4 separate regions of the Homo sapiens genome follow, and all the other regions are linked to region 1. Evidence: promoter capture Hi-C in human tissues and cell types (Jung and others, 2019). All regions are on one chromosome and are shown on one strand. The core of a region is centred on a gene start or on the middle of the fragment in contact, and the rest is flanking DNA. Distances in the headings are between cores, read along the strand shown.

The links. The method cuts DNA at HindIII sites, captures the fragments that hold promoters and counts their contacts. A contact is called where the count stands out against the background at its distance.
Region 2: a contact is called between the fragment with the promoter of PRC1 here and a fragment that was not itself captured in region 1, in 2 of the 25 tissues and cell types used here (aorta and spleen).
Region 3: the fragment with the promoter of RCCD1 here is called in contact with a fragment that was not itself captured in region 1 in 1 of the 25 tissues and cell types used here (spleen).
Region 4: the fragment with the promoter of FURIN here is called in contact with a fragment that was not itself captured in region 1 in 1 of the 25 tissues and cell types used here (spleen).

The regions. Positions count from the first base shown.
Region 1 is chr15:90,239,752-90,243,448 of GRCh38, reverse strand. GDPGP1 (GDP-D-glucose phosphorylase 1) reads right to left here. Exons shown (of 4, transcript NM_001013657.3): 4 at 1-2,549. The coding sequence starts at 2,540. The coding sequence ends at 1,383. It also overlaps a transcript of CIB1 not described here. Among named protein-coding and RNA genes, the nearest start is that of GDPGP1, 7.4 kb to the right of the region's middle. The HindIII fragment of the contact is 7,306 bases long and covers 1-3,697 here.
Region 2 is chr15:90,992,946-90,996,642 of GRCh38, reverse strand. PRC1 (protein regulator of cytokinesis 1) reads left to right here and starts at 2,108. Exons shown (of 15, transcript NM_003981.4): 1 at 2,108-2,236. The coding sequence starts at 2,226. It overlaps LOC124903556 (a long non-coding RNA gene), which reads right to left and starts at 1,864. Exons shown (of 2, transcript XR_007064759.1): 1 at 1,708-1,864. RefSeq lists enhancers at 1,068-1,934, 1,935-2,802 and a silencer at 2,352-2,571. The HindIII fragment of the contact is 8,571 bases long and covers 1-3,697 here.
Region 3 is chr15:90,953,299-90,956,995 of GRCh38, reverse strand. RCCD1 (RCC1 domain containing 1) reads right to left here and starts at 2,112. Exons shown (of 8, transcript NM_001017919.2): 1 at 2,048-2,112; 2 at 96-384. The coding sequence starts at 261. UNC45A (unc-45 myosin chaperone A) reads right to left here. Exons shown (of 20, transcript NM_018671.5): 19 at 3,686-3,697; 20 at 2,903-3,537. The coding sequence ends at 3,280. RCCD1-AS1 (RCCD1 and UNC45A antisense RNA 1) reads left to right here and starts at 2,503. Exons shown (of 2, transcript NR_170325.1): 1 at 2,503-2,661. RefSeq lists silencers at 1-35, 156-385, 1,616-1,745 and enhancers at 1,966-2,075, 1,876-2,430, 3,255-3,697. The HindIII fragment of the contact is 8,803 bases long and covers 1-3,697 here.
Region 4 is chr15:90,866,491-90,870,187 of GRCh38, reverse strand. It overlaps FURIN (furin, paired basic amino acid cleaving enzyme), which reads right to left and starts at 1,600. Exons shown (of 16, transcript NM_002569.4): 1 at 1,477-1,600. RefSeq lists enhancers at 135-429, 367-476, 215-509, 577-626, 1-1,068. The HindIII fragment of the contact is 14,305 bases long and covers 1-3,697 here.

The sequences.
Region 1 (3,697 bases), core at 1,198-3,697:
CTTGAGACCAAGAGTTTGGGTCTGCAGTGAGCTGTGATTGCACCACTGCACCCCAGCCTTACAAAAAAACAAAACAAAAAAAGACGTGCACCCGGAAAGTTGTGACAACACTGTGTTTTTACATCAGATGATGTCAGTGAAGAGCATTCAACTTGGTGTTGGGGGCTAGAGGAAAGCTCAAGGTGGCAGGGAAAGTGAAGGAGTGGGGCATTTGGGTGGAGCAGGGCTAAATGGAAAGAAGGGACAAAGCAATAAAAATAAGTGGTGAGCAAAGGGGAATAAACAGGCTGAGAACAGAAGTGGCAGCTCAATACTGGAGGCACAGGCACTATTACCGTGCTAACATTTGATATCAAAGGAAGACAAAATCTAAATGTAAAGTCAGGAGTGTGTAACTGTCACACACACTCCTTTTTAACACCCCTGGGGCTTGAACAAGAACGGGGAGAGGTAGCAGATACATTCATGATGTCTTACTCAGTAGAATTATTCCAGATTTTCTCCCCTTTAAAGAGACCACTATCAGCTCCCCTTTAAAGAGACCATTATCTTTCTCCCCTTTAAGAGATCATTATCAGCTTTCTTCATCCTTCTTCTTAGGCTGAGACAGGTGAGAAGGCAGCCATGAAAATAAATGTCCAAAGGACTATGATGGACAGTGCTCTGGAAAGGGACTCATCAGGTAGAAAATGAATACATCCTGGCTGGGTGTGGTGGCTCACGCCTGTAATCCCAGCACTTTGGGAGGCCGAGGCGGGCGGATCACCTAAAGTCAGGAGTTCAAGACCAGCCTAGCCAATGTGGTGAAACCCCTTCTCTTTTAAAAATACAAAAAAATTAGCCGGGTTTGGTGGCAGGAGCCTGTATAGTCCCAGCTACTCGGGAGGCTGAGCCAGGAGGATCACTCGAACCCTAGAGGTGGAGGTTGCAGTGAGCCGAGATTGTACCAGTGCACCCCAACCTAGGTGACAGAGCGAGACTATCTCAAAAAAAAAAAAAAAAAAAAAAAAAAAAAAAGAAACAGAAAAGAATCCAGGGGCTCACTCCTGTCATCTCAGTACTTTGGGAGGCCGAGGTGGGAGGACTGCTTCAGCCCAAGAGTTCAAGACCAGCCTGGGCAACATGGTGAAACGCTGTCTATATAAAAAAATACAAAATCACCTAATCGTTAAAAAAAAAAAAAAAAAAAAAAAAAGCCAGGTGTGTGGTGGTGCACGCCTATAGTCTCAGCTACTCAAGAGGCTGAGGTGGGAGGATCACTTCAGCCCCAGAGGTGGAGGCTACAGTGAGCCAGGATCATACCACTACACTCTAGCCTGGGGACAGAGTGAGACCCTATCTCAAAAGAAAAGAAAAAAAGAACATAAATACATCCAGAAGTATTATTGCTCTTCCTGGGACATCAGGGCCACCAGTGCTGCCTGTACGTCTTCTGCCTGGGATGGGGGCAGCCGACAGTCCTGAATGAGGGCCACAGCAGCTGCCTCTGTCAGGCTGCTGAAGTCCTGGGATGTTTTGACAGGGAGGTGCCCAGCCAGCTCACAGAGGGCAACATTGAAAGCTTCACCGTCCTTTATCCCAAAGCTGGACTTCCGGGCCCACAGAATTACTCGGACCCCTGTGAGGGCTGAGGAAGGTGATGTCTTTCCCGGCGGAGCTCCCCGGGTGACAAACAAGTTATGAGCAATCTCATGGTCAGTCAGATAATCAGTGGCCCGACATACCCTGCTTATCAAGGACTCCAAGTCAGGCCCTGGCCCACGAGTGTAAAAGAGGAAGCCAGGAGCTGGGAGGTCCTGGAGCAGATGCAAATGGCCTCCAGGGTCCAGGGGCTCGCTTGGCGCCTGCTCCACGGGCAGTCTGTGGGCCAGGTAATAGCCATGCAGGTGGAGGTGGTTCACCGAGGCCAAGCCTCCCAGGCTGTTGAAGCCGACACGGAAGCCCGGGTGTAAGCTCAGCAGCACAGCCTCAATCCCTGCCCTCAGTGCACCCGGCAGCAGGCGCTGGGGGAGCTGGCGGGCAGGCTCAGGCACCAGCAGCACGTGGCCCCACTCCAGGGGGCTGACGTTGATCACCACCAGGATGTCTTCTTGCAGCAGAGTCCCAGGGAGATCAGGCTCCCGGTGCAAACGGAAGAGGACTTCTCCGGGCCGGATCTTGTTGAAGTTGAACTGTACAGGGTCAAATGCCTGCCTCACACTCTTGATGGTCTGCGGGGGCCTCCTCTGCACACCACGCTCCACATTCAGCTGAGCCACGAAACCCACAGCACCAGGGAGGATTTGGGTCTGTAGCTCCCGTAGACGGTAGCGAAACAGCCCCAGCTCCACCCGCTGCTTCCAGGCAGAGCAGAGTGCAGCATCAAAGGGAGATTGTGGCAGAGCATCTGGGATGCCAGGTGCATTCCTTGGCCACTGAATCCCTTCTGCCATGAGATCCTTCTGCCCATAAACAAAGTCAGGAATGGTTTGCCTGCCCCAGTCCTCATTGTTGGGAGGCAGCAAATAGGAAGTTTCGTTTGAATCATGTGGAAGAGCCATAGAGCTGACCTGAAATAGTCATAAAAGATGAAAACACATGATGGTAACCCACCTCCAGAGATTGTCATTGTATTTATTTATTTATTTTTTTTTTTGAGATGGAGTCTCACTCTGTCACCCAGGCTGGAGTGCAGTGGCAGTGATCTTGGTTCACTGTAACCTCCGCCTCCTGGGTTCAAGCGGTTCTCCCGCCTCAGCCTCCTGGGCAGCTGGGGTTACAGGCAGGCACCACCATGCCCGGGTAATTTTTGTATTTTTAGTAGAGATGGTGTTTCACCATGTTGGCCAGGCTGGTCTTGAACTCCTGACATCGGGTGATCCCTTTGCCTTGGCCTCCCAAAGTGCTGGGATTACAGGCATGAACCAACATGCACAGCTTATTTATTTATTTTTATTTTTTTGAGACAGAGTCTCACTCTGTTGCCCAGGCTAGAGGGCAGTGGCGCGATCTTGGCTCACTGCAACCTCCACCTCCTGGGTTCAAGTGATTCTCATGCCTCAGCCTCCCAAGCAGCTGGAATTACAGGCACCCGCCACCAGGCCCGGCTAATTTTTGTATTTTTAGTAGAGGCAGGGTTTCACCACATTGGCCAGGCCGGTCTTGAACTCCTGACCTCCGGTGACCCTCCCCTCTCGGCTTCCCAAAGTGCTGGGATTACAGGCCTGAGCCACTGCACCTGGCCTATTTATTTATTTATCACTCTGTCACCCAGGCTGGAGTGCAATGGCGCTATCTTGGCTCACTGCAACCTCTACCTCCCAGGTTCAAGCGATTCTCTGGCCTCAGCCTCCCAAGTAGCTGGGATTATAGGAATGTGCCACCACAGCCAGCTAATTTTGTATTTTTGGTAGAGACAGGGTTTCACCATGTTGGTCTGGCTGGTCTTGAACTCCTGACCTCAGGTGATCCACCCACCTCGGCTTCCCAAAGTGCTGGGATTACAGGTGTGAGCCACTGCGCCCAGCCACGGCCTATTTTATTTTGAAACAGGTTCTCACTCTGTCACCCAGGCAGGAGTGCAGTGGTGCATACATGTCTCCCTGAAGCCTTGACCTCCCAGGCTCAAGGGATTCTTTCACCTCAGCATCCCAAGTATCTGGAACTACAGGCATGTGCCACCAGGCACTGCCGAGATCGCACCATTGCAGTCCAGCCT
Region 2 (3,697 bases), core at 859-3,358, 750 kb before region 1:
CCTGGGCTCAAGTGATCCTCCCACCTCAGCCTCCCAAGTAGCTGGAACTACAGGCTCATACCACCACACCTGGCTAATTTTTGTATTTTTTATAGAGACAGGGTTTTGCCACAGTGCCCAGGCTAAGGTCATATATTATAAACGCGTATTACACAGTGTTTTACATGCTGCGTTTATGCTCTGAATGGATATCTTTGCATCAGTTCTATGACTTTGTTAGCCTCAGCACCTCAGTGTAAAGGACAAGAGAGAAAAAATTGCCTTTTCTTTGGATACTTCATAATGCTGGTGCTAAGAACAAGTATGAAGATCACAAATTTGTGAAGCTTTCTGAAAAGCTCTCCTGTTAATTTAATCAACAAAGAATGCAAGTAAATTTTAAAAGTAGTGCTACCATCTACTCTATTAGTGGTGTCAATGTTAATCACAGAGTGCAAGGAAATTGAAAAAGTGGTGCCTGTCGCCCACTGTGTTGGTGCTGTGAATGTTTGGCATGCTGCTGACAAGTTAAAAAGAACATGGAAGCCGGGCGCGTTGGCTCACGCCTGTAATCCCAACACTTTGGGAGGCCGAGGCAGGCGGATCACCTGAGGTCAGGAGTTCAAGACCAGCCTGGCCAACATGGCAAAACCCCGTCTCTATTAAAAATACAAAAAAAAAAAGTATCCAGGCATGGTGGTGCGTGCCTGTAGTCCCAGCTACTCGGGAAGCTGAGGCACAAGAATTGCTTGAACCCAGGTAGCGGAGGTTGCAGTGAGCTGAGATTGGGCCACTGCACTACAGCCTGGGTGACAGAGCGAGACTCCGTCTCAATTAAAAAAAGTAAAAAGAACATTGAAAGCACTAATGAAGTTTTTCTGAAAATAAGAAAAATATGGTTCTGAAGGTGAAGCAAACAAGCATCCTTTACCTTTAGGGAAAAGGCATATGAAGAGGATTCACTTAAGTTACAGTTGGCCAATAAACACGAAAAATGTGCAATTTCAATTATAATCAAGTGCCAAACAAGGAAATGCCAGTATTATTATTTTACCTACAAAATGAGCAAAGATGTTTAGAAGTACAATAGAATTCAGCCCTGCTGAGGGTAACAAAAGGAGGGTACTTTTCCGGTGAGGCTTTGTGCAGAAGGCAAATTAATAAAGGGAGCATTCAGTAATTACACCTCTAGGAATCAGCCGTACGAAAATGCAGGATGCATTTATAAATACATACATACACAAAGATTTATGTATGAAGATATTCAGCCCAGCCTTATCTTTTAAATTATCATCTAAATATCAATAGCAGAATGGGCGAGATATCTACACACCAGGATTCATGCCACCATGCCACCATGAATCACTGGGAAAAAACGGTGATATATAAGCATTTAGGGATGTAACATGTTCATCGAGGAAAGGAGGCTACAAAAGTAATGTCTATTTTGAGTTTTAAATTTTTCATGTAACGATTTAGAAACTCATCTAATTTGATAACGTGACTTAGGCAAATCATTCAAATCTTTTTGCGTTTCCTCTGCAATGGCGATTGTGGAGGTTAAATGGGATAACTGGCGTTGAAACGTTCCAGGCCCATGAGCAGGACTCAATGTTCCTTCCCTTCCCCTTTAGTGTATGGCTTCTTACATCTGGGGAAGAGTCCCACCAAAGATCGATTCCAAGCTTCGCTTCTTGGATGAGCGAGGGAAACTAGGCGCTAACTTACCTATTCACCCCCGCGCCCGTTCCCGGCAGCCGGGACTCAGGGAAGCCAGGTAGCCGCGGTGCTCTCAACTCCCTCCCCGCCCGCGCACTTCGAATCCAAACTGCGCGGGGCGAGGCGGGGCGGCGCTCCGATGAGGTAGCTGGCTTGGGAGAGGAGTCCCTTGAGGCTGCCGCCAAGCCAGGGAAGCGGGAGGCGCAGGCCACGCCCGGCCACTCACAGACAGTGACGTCATCCCCCGCCGCCACTCCGGCGCTTCCCAGGCCCTGCTCGCGAGTCCCCACCCCGATTGCGCACCCGCGACTTCAGCCCGAGGGGCGGGGATTTTCTTGGAGCGACGGGACGCGACGCCAATCGCGACGAGGCTTCGCCCCGTGGCGCGGTTTGAAATTTTGCGGGGCTCAACGGCTCGCGGAGCGGCTACGCGGAGTGACATCGCCGGTGTTTGCGGGTGGTTGTTGCTCTCGGGGCCGTGTGGAGTAGGTCTGGACCTGGACTCACGGCTGCTTGGAGCGTCCGCCATGAGGAGAAGGTGCGGGTTGCGGGGAAATCGAGGGGACGCGGGAGGGAGCGACGCTCGTTTCGGCTGCGGGGCCTGTTCAGGGGTGCGGGACCCGTGCGGGGTCCCGGGCCTAGATCGTCACGGCAGTCGGCGCCGAGGGAGGCCGGGGGCGCTGAGGGGCAGGGTCTGGAGGCGGCGAGCCAGTGCGAGGGCCGCGGCGGTGAGACCTGACGCGCTGTCCGCCGGCGGCCGCAGGTGCCCGCAGGCTCAGACGCCCGGGTGGGAGCCGAGCGCCGGTGCCCGGACGCGGCAGGGTAGTCGAGGCCCGGGGCCCGGGGCGGCCTCCACCCAGGCGGTCAGCGCTGGCGCTCGGACCCCACCCTCCCCGCCCGCAGCGTCTCAGGTGCCGCTGCTTGGCGCAGATGACTCGTTGTAAACCTTCTGTGGTCGTGGCTTTTCTTTAAAGCTGTTAAGTTTATTTATCGTTGTTTTTCTTTGTTTTATTCTTTTTTTTTATTTTTGTGGAAACGCGGTCTATGTTGGCCAGGCTGGTCTCGAACTCCTGGCTTCAAGTAATCCTGCCACCTCGGCCTCCCAAAGTGTTGGGATTACAGGCGTGAGCCACCGTGCCCGGCCCGTTGTTTTTCTTTATATCTGGCCAGCGGTGTTAACGTTTTGTTTGAATTGGAAAGATAGCTTTGTTTCTTTGCAAGTTAAGAAACGGATTATGGAATTCTTTTCCGGTCGTTTTAATAACTTCCTAGGCGGTGTTGGGGAGGGACTGTCCGACTTGAAATCGGGACCAGACGGTGACACTGCCACTTACCAACCTTGTGACTTCCAAATATTAACTTTATTTTCTAAAAGTTGTGGATGCAGTTTTCTGATGATACAGCGTTAAATAATGTGTAGTTTTTGGTGGAACTGATTGTTCTAAGGCTTTGTAAGATTCTTCATTTCATGATCACTAATTCTGATCAGTCTTTTTAAAATGCTTGCCCTCAGAATAATGAGAATTGAGTGCCAACATGGTAAAACCTTGTCTTAACTAAAAATACAAAAATTATCTGGCCCTGGTGGCGCGCCTGTACCCCCAGCTTTTCAGGAGGCTGAGGCAGGAGAATCGCTTCAGCCTAGGAGGCAGAGGTTGCATGAGCCGACATCTCGACACTGCACTCCAGCCTAGGCGACAGAGTGAGACTACGTCTCAAAAAAAAAAAAAAAAGTCCATTAACAGTTTATGAATTATGTAGGCATCTCCTCTATCAAGGGATTGAATGAAGCAGGAGAAAACTTACCCTTTAATGTTGGTTCCAGGCTAATGGATATAATTAACTTTTTTTTTTTTTTTTTTTTTTTTTTTTTTGAGACGGGGTCTCACTCTGTCGCCCAGGCTGGAGTGTAGTGGCGAGATTGCTCACTGCAGCTTTGACCTCTGAGGCTCAAACGAAACTCTGGCCAGAATTAATTATGGTTATCGATCCCCGAAAC
Region 3 (3,697 bases), core at 863-3,362, 710 kb before region 1:
GAACGGGGGAGACAAACTGGACTGGCCACAGCGGTGCGGGGAGGCGACTGGGGAGCGCGGCTGGAATAAGTGGGGACGGGGCGGGGAGTGCTCACGGGTCACGAAAGCGGTGTAGCTCCAGCTCGCGCTCACGCGGCAGATGTCGACGCCCGCCCGCAGCGGACTGGGGCTGTGCACCTGGCGCCCGCGTCCGGAGCCCAGCTCCTGCCCGAAGCCGCAGAAACCGAAGCCGAACCAGGCCCCCGGCCGCTCCTCCGCCATGCCCGAGCAGCGCCCTCTGCCGGCCGCCGCCTGGCTGCGGCGGGCCCGGGGGGATTCTTGCGAAGAGCCCGCTAGTGGGACACTGGCAAGTCTCTGGCCTTCCAGGGGCTGGAGCTGCCTTATCTGTAAAATGGAGAAACTATCATTCTCCCGACCACAAAGGCAGAGTCCGTGCCACGAAGGTTCGCTGAGCAGGCGCCCTGACTAATGCCCTACCGGATTTACAAAGATGCTCAAATATTTAGAGGCACTTTCCCTGTCCTCCCTTTTGGCTCAAGCTCAGCGTGCCACAAAGTGGGTACGAAGTGGCCTGTCCTTTAGGCATTGGACTAGGATCCGAGCGCCCCCGACACCCCCACCCCGTCCCGCAGCTTCCCAGCATCTGGCACTTTATCCCATGTAATCTTGGGAACCAAAATGGTCGTTTTACAGAGGAGATTCTGAGACAAAGTAACCCTTACACACTCATACAGCCAGACAGAGAGGGGCAGAGCGCTGAAATCAGGTCCCACCAACTCCACACACAGTGCTCTGCCCCTCTCCCCACAGCGGAACGCAGAAGAGCGTTTGGGAGGCAGTGCCTCTGCAACTCAGCGGGGCCTTGGGACCGCAGCCAATCCACCTGAGTCCAACTGCGTTTCTTCAGTTTACAAAGGGAGGTGGGGGCGGTGCTGTTTGAACCTTCCTCACAGAATTGTAATAAATGCAAATAAAGGGTTTGGTGCGAGTACATGCCATGATAAACACACAGTATTAGCTTACTGAATCCAGTATTTAGTGTTGACAAAAAAATTATCCCTGGACATCTTACTGGTTTTGAGAAACTTATACAGACAGAATTTCAACTGTACCTTATCTAGCCATTTATTCGTCCAGCGAGCATTTACTGAGCGCTCCTCCTCTGCCAGTGAGGACAGCTGTCTGCTCCCAAGGAGCTAACCGTTAAATGGGGAGACAAACAGTCTGGTGGTTACAACAGCAACGCCAACTTCAAGCAGATTCGGCTGGAGCGGGTTTGTTTTTTTTTTTTTTTAATATAATAGAGACAGGGGTCTCGCTATGCTGCCCAGGCTGGTCTCAAATTCCTGGGCTCGAGTGATCCGCCCGCCTCGGCCTCCCAAAGCGTTGGGATTACAGGCGTGAGCCGCTGCACCCGGGCTGAAGCAGAATTGCATGGGCATTTTCAGGCCTCTTAAGTCAGATCCTGGGTCTCTCCTGAGACCCCAGTTCCTGGGCTCCTAACCCCTTCCGTGTCCTCTCCCAACCCAAGGGGGCCTCTGACCTTGATCTTGACCCTATGCCCTCTACCCTCTCGGGCAGGTCCTTCTGGTGGGCAGCCTTGGAGGAAACGCCGAGGCGCAGAGCGGCCGCCTCCGGAAAGGCCTCCCGCCCAGCGGGCGCCGACAGCCACGGGGAGAAAAGGTTTGAAGGGCGCGCGGCGCGAGGCGGCCAATCACCAGCAAGGGCGGTGACGTCGCCGCCCGGGGCGCGGCGGCCGCAGCCCTGTTCAACTCCCCTTGAGGGCCTCTCCGGTCCCGAGGCCTACGCCGGGGCCCTGCGGCCCGGTCTGTGAAATGGGCTGAAACCTCCGAGGGGCGTTGGACCAAGGCCCTGGAGGAAACCGGGGGCGTTGGACCAAGGCAGAGGTTGGGCCAGGTGGTCCCGCCCCTGCAGGAACCCGTGGGGCTGGAGCTCGGATTAGAACCACAGAGAGGACATTCATTAAGACTTGAGCTAAAGGTTTGGCGAGGAGTGACGCCCAAGACGGGCGGACCCCGCCACCCACCTCAGTCCCGGGACCGCGGCAGCTCAAAACCCGACACGCGCCGGACTCATGCCCCAACAGGAAGCAGCTTTTACCTTCCACGGATTGGCTCAGGACCCGTCACGTGCCTCTGTCGAGCCAACGAGCCTCACGCTGGGCTTAGCCCTCCTCGAACGTGCTGGGGTGGTGGGCGGGGCCCAAGCCGCCCTTCAACCAGGCTCAGCTGGCCACCAACCCCAACCCCCGCCCCAGCGCCCTCAGCGGAGGCCACAGAGGACTCCCAATATAAAGACAAACGTACTGAAGGCCCAGCATATGGGAGTCTCTACCCTAAACGACTTATTTCTTGGGATAGTTTAATATTTTTTGAGATAGGGTCTCGCTGTGTCGCCCAGGCGACACTTTGGGAGGCTGCGCTCTGGGCTCACTGCAACCTTCGCCTACCGAGTAGCTGGGATTACAGGTGCATGCCGCCACACTCTGCTCTTTTTTTTTTTTTTTTTTTTTTTTTGGTATTTTTATAGAGAAAGAGTTTTGCTTGTTGCCCAGGCTGGTCTCGAACCCCTGACTTCAAGTGATCCACCTGCCTCAGCCTCCCAAAGCGCTGGGATTACAAGCTTGAGGCACCGCACCTGGTGAGTTTCTTATTGATTAGCTTCCTAGGCTTACCCTTTGTCCCTCCAGTAGGATTAAGAAGCAACTCAGTGGGCCCTGGTTGGGGAATCCATTGGATTCCTTCCATGGAGGTGGGTCTGCCACTGTGAAGCTCCGTTGCACACTCACCCACGCCCAGCTCACACCCATACTCACCCACACTCACCCACTCAGAGACTCCCACTCACAGCAGCCCTCCCTGCCCAAGGACAGGGCACACAGTGGAGTTCTACACACTTTTATTGGAGGGGCAGGCCTGATAGCAGGCTCACAGCTGGTGAGGCTGCTGATGTGTGCGCCCTTCCAGATGCCCCAGGATCCACAGGCTGTGTTGGGATGCACCTTCCCCATTCCCAGCTGACTACAGTAGTACAGAAAAAGGGCCCCTCTGAGTGAGGCTGCAGGCAGTGCTGGCCAAGCAGGGCTGTGTGACTGAACGTGGCCGCTGACTCAGAACAGAGGACATCCTAGGGCAGCAAGCGAGGATGGGCAAGAGTATTGGGCATGCCAGCCACCACCAGCCAAAGCTGCTTCCGTCCTTACTCTCCGTGCCACAATAGGTAGCGTGTGCATGAGCCTTGGGCCCAGGGACAACCCCCTCACTCTCCATCTTGGTTGGGTTGGATAAGCCCATATTCCACTGCTTTGTCCAGGCAGGCTGCAGCAGCCCTTGTGACAGGGCTGTGGTCACCCTTAGCTAGCACTGACAAGATCTCCATCATCTCACTCTCCATCAGGGTGCTGGCAATCTCCCTCGAGGCCTCCACCATGTTCAGCACCACCACAGCACCCCGGTGCTGCAGCTCCTGGTTGGAGCTCAGAAGCAGGGCCTGCAGGATCTCCAGCCAGTGTGTGGTCTGTGAGAAAAACAGGGTAGATATGACCCCTGGGCAACAGGCTCAACCTTGGCAAGGGACACACCCACACACCCTAGGACTGCCCCCTTCAGCTGCTGCTGGGAGTTCCTGGTCCGTCCCTCCTCCCCCACTGAGAAGAGGCACTGACCACTTGGGGAAT
Region 4 (3,697 bases), core at 351-2,850, 630 kb before region 1:
ACTTCCTCAATTTACCCCTCTATAAAATGGAGATAATATTTAGTGAATGGGATCAGGTACGATTCGGGCACCTTTACAAACACTGCAAGAACTGGAAACTGGAGGAACAATGCTGGGTCCTCAAAGTTGAGCGGGAAGATAAGTCCAGTTGGCCTTGTCCCAAAGTGGGGACTTCCCCTCCGCCAAGGAACTAAGACTTGTAGGGGCCACACTGGGTAGCGCCAGCCACAGTTGGGAGAACAATACTCCAGCAGTCAGACTGAGGCAGGAAGTGACTCACGCTTCTTCCTTAGGCTGTGAGCAAGAGAACTCCATTGAGGGGAAACAGGGACAGGGCTGGCCCCACCTACCCACTTGTCCTCAGGCCTAGAAGAAAGGTCAGCCCAGAAAAATAGCAATACTTGCTGCTTCAGGTGCCCCACCCATCCTGGAGACTGGCCCCAGGGGAGCCCGCAGTGGGTCTTTGGAGGGGGAGGGGCTAGCCTAGGCTCAGATGACTGCCACCCAGGCAGAGGCGGTGGGAAGTGGAGCTTCCCAGTTTCTTCCAGCCAGCTTGCCTCTTCAATCTGCATAAGGCAAAATTCTTTAAAGTGGGTTCTCAGAGGTGCCTCCCTGAGAGGGAGGAATGAGGACAGGATTGGGCAGTTGAGCACCTCTCTCTGCTTCACCCAGAGTGTCTCACATTTTAGGGTTTCACATGAGATTGTATTTTACAACAATTCTGCTGCTAAAAAGAATTTGAAAGCCACTCTCTGTGAGACTTCTCTGGAAAAAAATCCCATTTGACCACAACTGGTGACTTCTGCCTTTATCTCATTGCAACAAGTCCTGTGGGCAGGTATTGTTCTCTTTATCACTCTCAACTGGCCCTGGAGCCCAGGTCTCCTGACCTGGGGCCCTAGGGGCCCAAGGTCCTCTGGATCCCACCTTACCAGTTTTACACAGCAGTTAGCAGGACTTGGGCATGTGACAGAAGTCTGGAGATGAGTGAGAGGAGCAGGGCCTGATGGGTAAGTGGGGGCTGTAAAGGGGCTCCATTTTCCCAGCAGGGCTCTGGGAGGAAGAGTCCAGCTAGGCCTCTCTTTATCCTTGATTTGGGGCTAATCCAGAGAGGCTCCTGAGAATCACATAGTCCTAAATCCACCCAGTCATCCTGACTCCAAGCACTCCTGTTGTCTCCTTGGGGTGCTCTGGGAGTCTTCTCTGAAATCTCTGGTCCACCTCAGGCACAGCAAATAAAGCCTTCGGCAGCAGCACCCACACCTAGTTGTAAGCAGAATGTCTACACAACATTCAGACGTGCATAGAAGGGTGCACAACAAAATTCCATTGGTGTTCTCTCCGAATGAAAGGGTCACATTTGCGATCTTTGTTTTCTTCTTTTTGCCTACCTGCATTTTTCAGGAATGTCTACAAGAACTCCTAAAATAATTAAACCTTTAAGTCAATGCAAAATCGAATAAAGCATGTCCATACTTCACCATCCAGCTCCAGAGCACCTGGGATTCATCCTGGCCGCTGCTGCTTCCCCGCCACTCACTGCAGCTGCAACAGTCAGGCTCCTATCCCTTCACAGGGCGGGGCCCTTCCAGTTCTGGCTAAACCACTTTGGGAAAACCTTCTTTATATGACAGGCAAACAGGGTGTCTGTGGGTGGGGGGAGGAGCTAAAAGTGATGTGGTGGTGACATATCTGGTCGCACTGGAACTGGATCCTAACATGGCCAGCCAGCCCTTCTCATTTTCCTCATTTATTGGGGTGGGTCTGCACTTACCTTCTGCCTGGCTTTGCTGCATCCCAGCCACTGGCTGACTTAATGACTTCCTTCCGCCAGCTCCAGCTCCTTGTGTTCTGCCTTGCCTTCCATGGCCAGCCAGTGCTGCCACAATTATGTACCTAATAAATGCTTTGGGTGCAGTCTCGCCTGGCAGACATTCATTGAGCAGCTGCTGAACGCTGGGCTCTGGTGCCCCATAGCTGGGTCCCTTAGAGCTTGTCCATAGGAAGCCAGAGACCACCTCTCTAGTAGGGTTGCATGGAGGTACCTGGGACACACCAGGGTCTTCCTCAGTCTGCGACCTCCCTGGCCTTCCAGCTTCAACAAGCCTGCTGCCCATCCTTCTCTCTCTCGATTCAGAAATGTGAATCACTCAATCCTCATAGTTTTTTTTGTTTGTTTGTTTTATGGGTTTGTTTTTTTTTTTTCTAGACAAGAGTCTCGCTCTGTTGCCCAGGCTGGAATGCAATGGCCTGATCACAGCTCACTGCAACCTCTGCCTTCTGGGTTCAGGCGATTCTCATGCTTCAGCCTCCCAAGTAGCTGGGATTACAGGCTTACGCCACTCGTATTTTTTTTTTTTTTTTTTGTATTTTTAGTAGAGATGGGGTTTTGCCATGTTGGCCAGGCTGGTCTCGCACTCCTGACCTTAAGTGATACACCCACCTCGGCCTCCCTAAGTGCTGGGATTATTAGGCGTGAGCCACCACGCCCGGTCCCCTTGTTGAGTTTTCAATCAGTTTGTCATCCTGAACAGGGTTTCTCAACCTTGGCATTATCAACATCTTGGGTCGGATAATTCTCTGTAGGGGACACTGCACTCTACATTGCAGGATGTTCAGTCGCATCCCTAGTCACTAAACATTAGCTGCTAGTAGCATTCCCGCTCCCATGATGACAACCAAAAAGATCTCCAGGTATTGCCAAATGTCCCTTGGGAGACAAAAATCTCTCCCAGCAAAGAACCACTGTCGCAGAATGAGGAGTGGGAACGTCACAGGATGGTGGTTAGTGTGCCAGGGTTCGAGGCAGCAAGAGTTGTCTGCTGGGAACTAAGCTCTGAGACAGCTAGCAGTGAGGGAGAAAACTCCCAAACTTGAAACTGCCCAGTATGCCAGCACAACAATGGGCCGTTTAGTGATCAGGGCAAACAATCATGCATCCTCATGACATCTGAGATCACTTTCCATCGTGTTGGTGATAATGCTGAATCAAGGAAAGGATCAATCATGTTGATCATACTCCATTTTCTAAGGTGGGGAGGTGTGTGAGCCCTTGTAGCATTAAAGACGTATTTGGAAAACAGATCAGTGCTTGCTTGGGGAAGGGGGCAGGGAGGGGCGGGAGGAAACTTTTGGGAATGATGGACATGTTCATTATCTTGATTGTGGTGATGGTTTCATGGGTGTGTCCATATATCAAAACATATCAAGTTGTACACTTTAAATCCATGCCGTTTATAGTGTGTCAGTTATACCTCAGCAAAGCTGTTTTGAAGATGTGTTGTTTAAAGTTTTAGTGCTTGAAGGGCATTATTTTGAAAATTCACTACTGTGGAGTAGTCCATTTCTTTGCTGAATAAATAAGGGGTCACTGTAGTACTTAAAAAGAAAACAGGAAGAAAAAACAAACAGAAGAAGAAGAAGAAAAGCGATCATGGGCTGTAAGGTCGTCCTAGGCAGGGAAGGAAAGGAATGGCGTGAAGAGTTGGCTCAGTCGCCCCTGAGTGTGGCCCGGAGAGCCTGTCCTCTGGCCTACGGCAGGCCCCAGAGAGTCTTTCCGTTGACTGATGCCATCAAATCAACATGTCTGGAACGGTATTATCAGGGACTTGGGAAAAATAGAATGACAAATGTGCTGGCTGCCAGGAAAGGAACAGATGAGTCTGGAAATTATAGGCTCCTCCACAAACTTTAATCC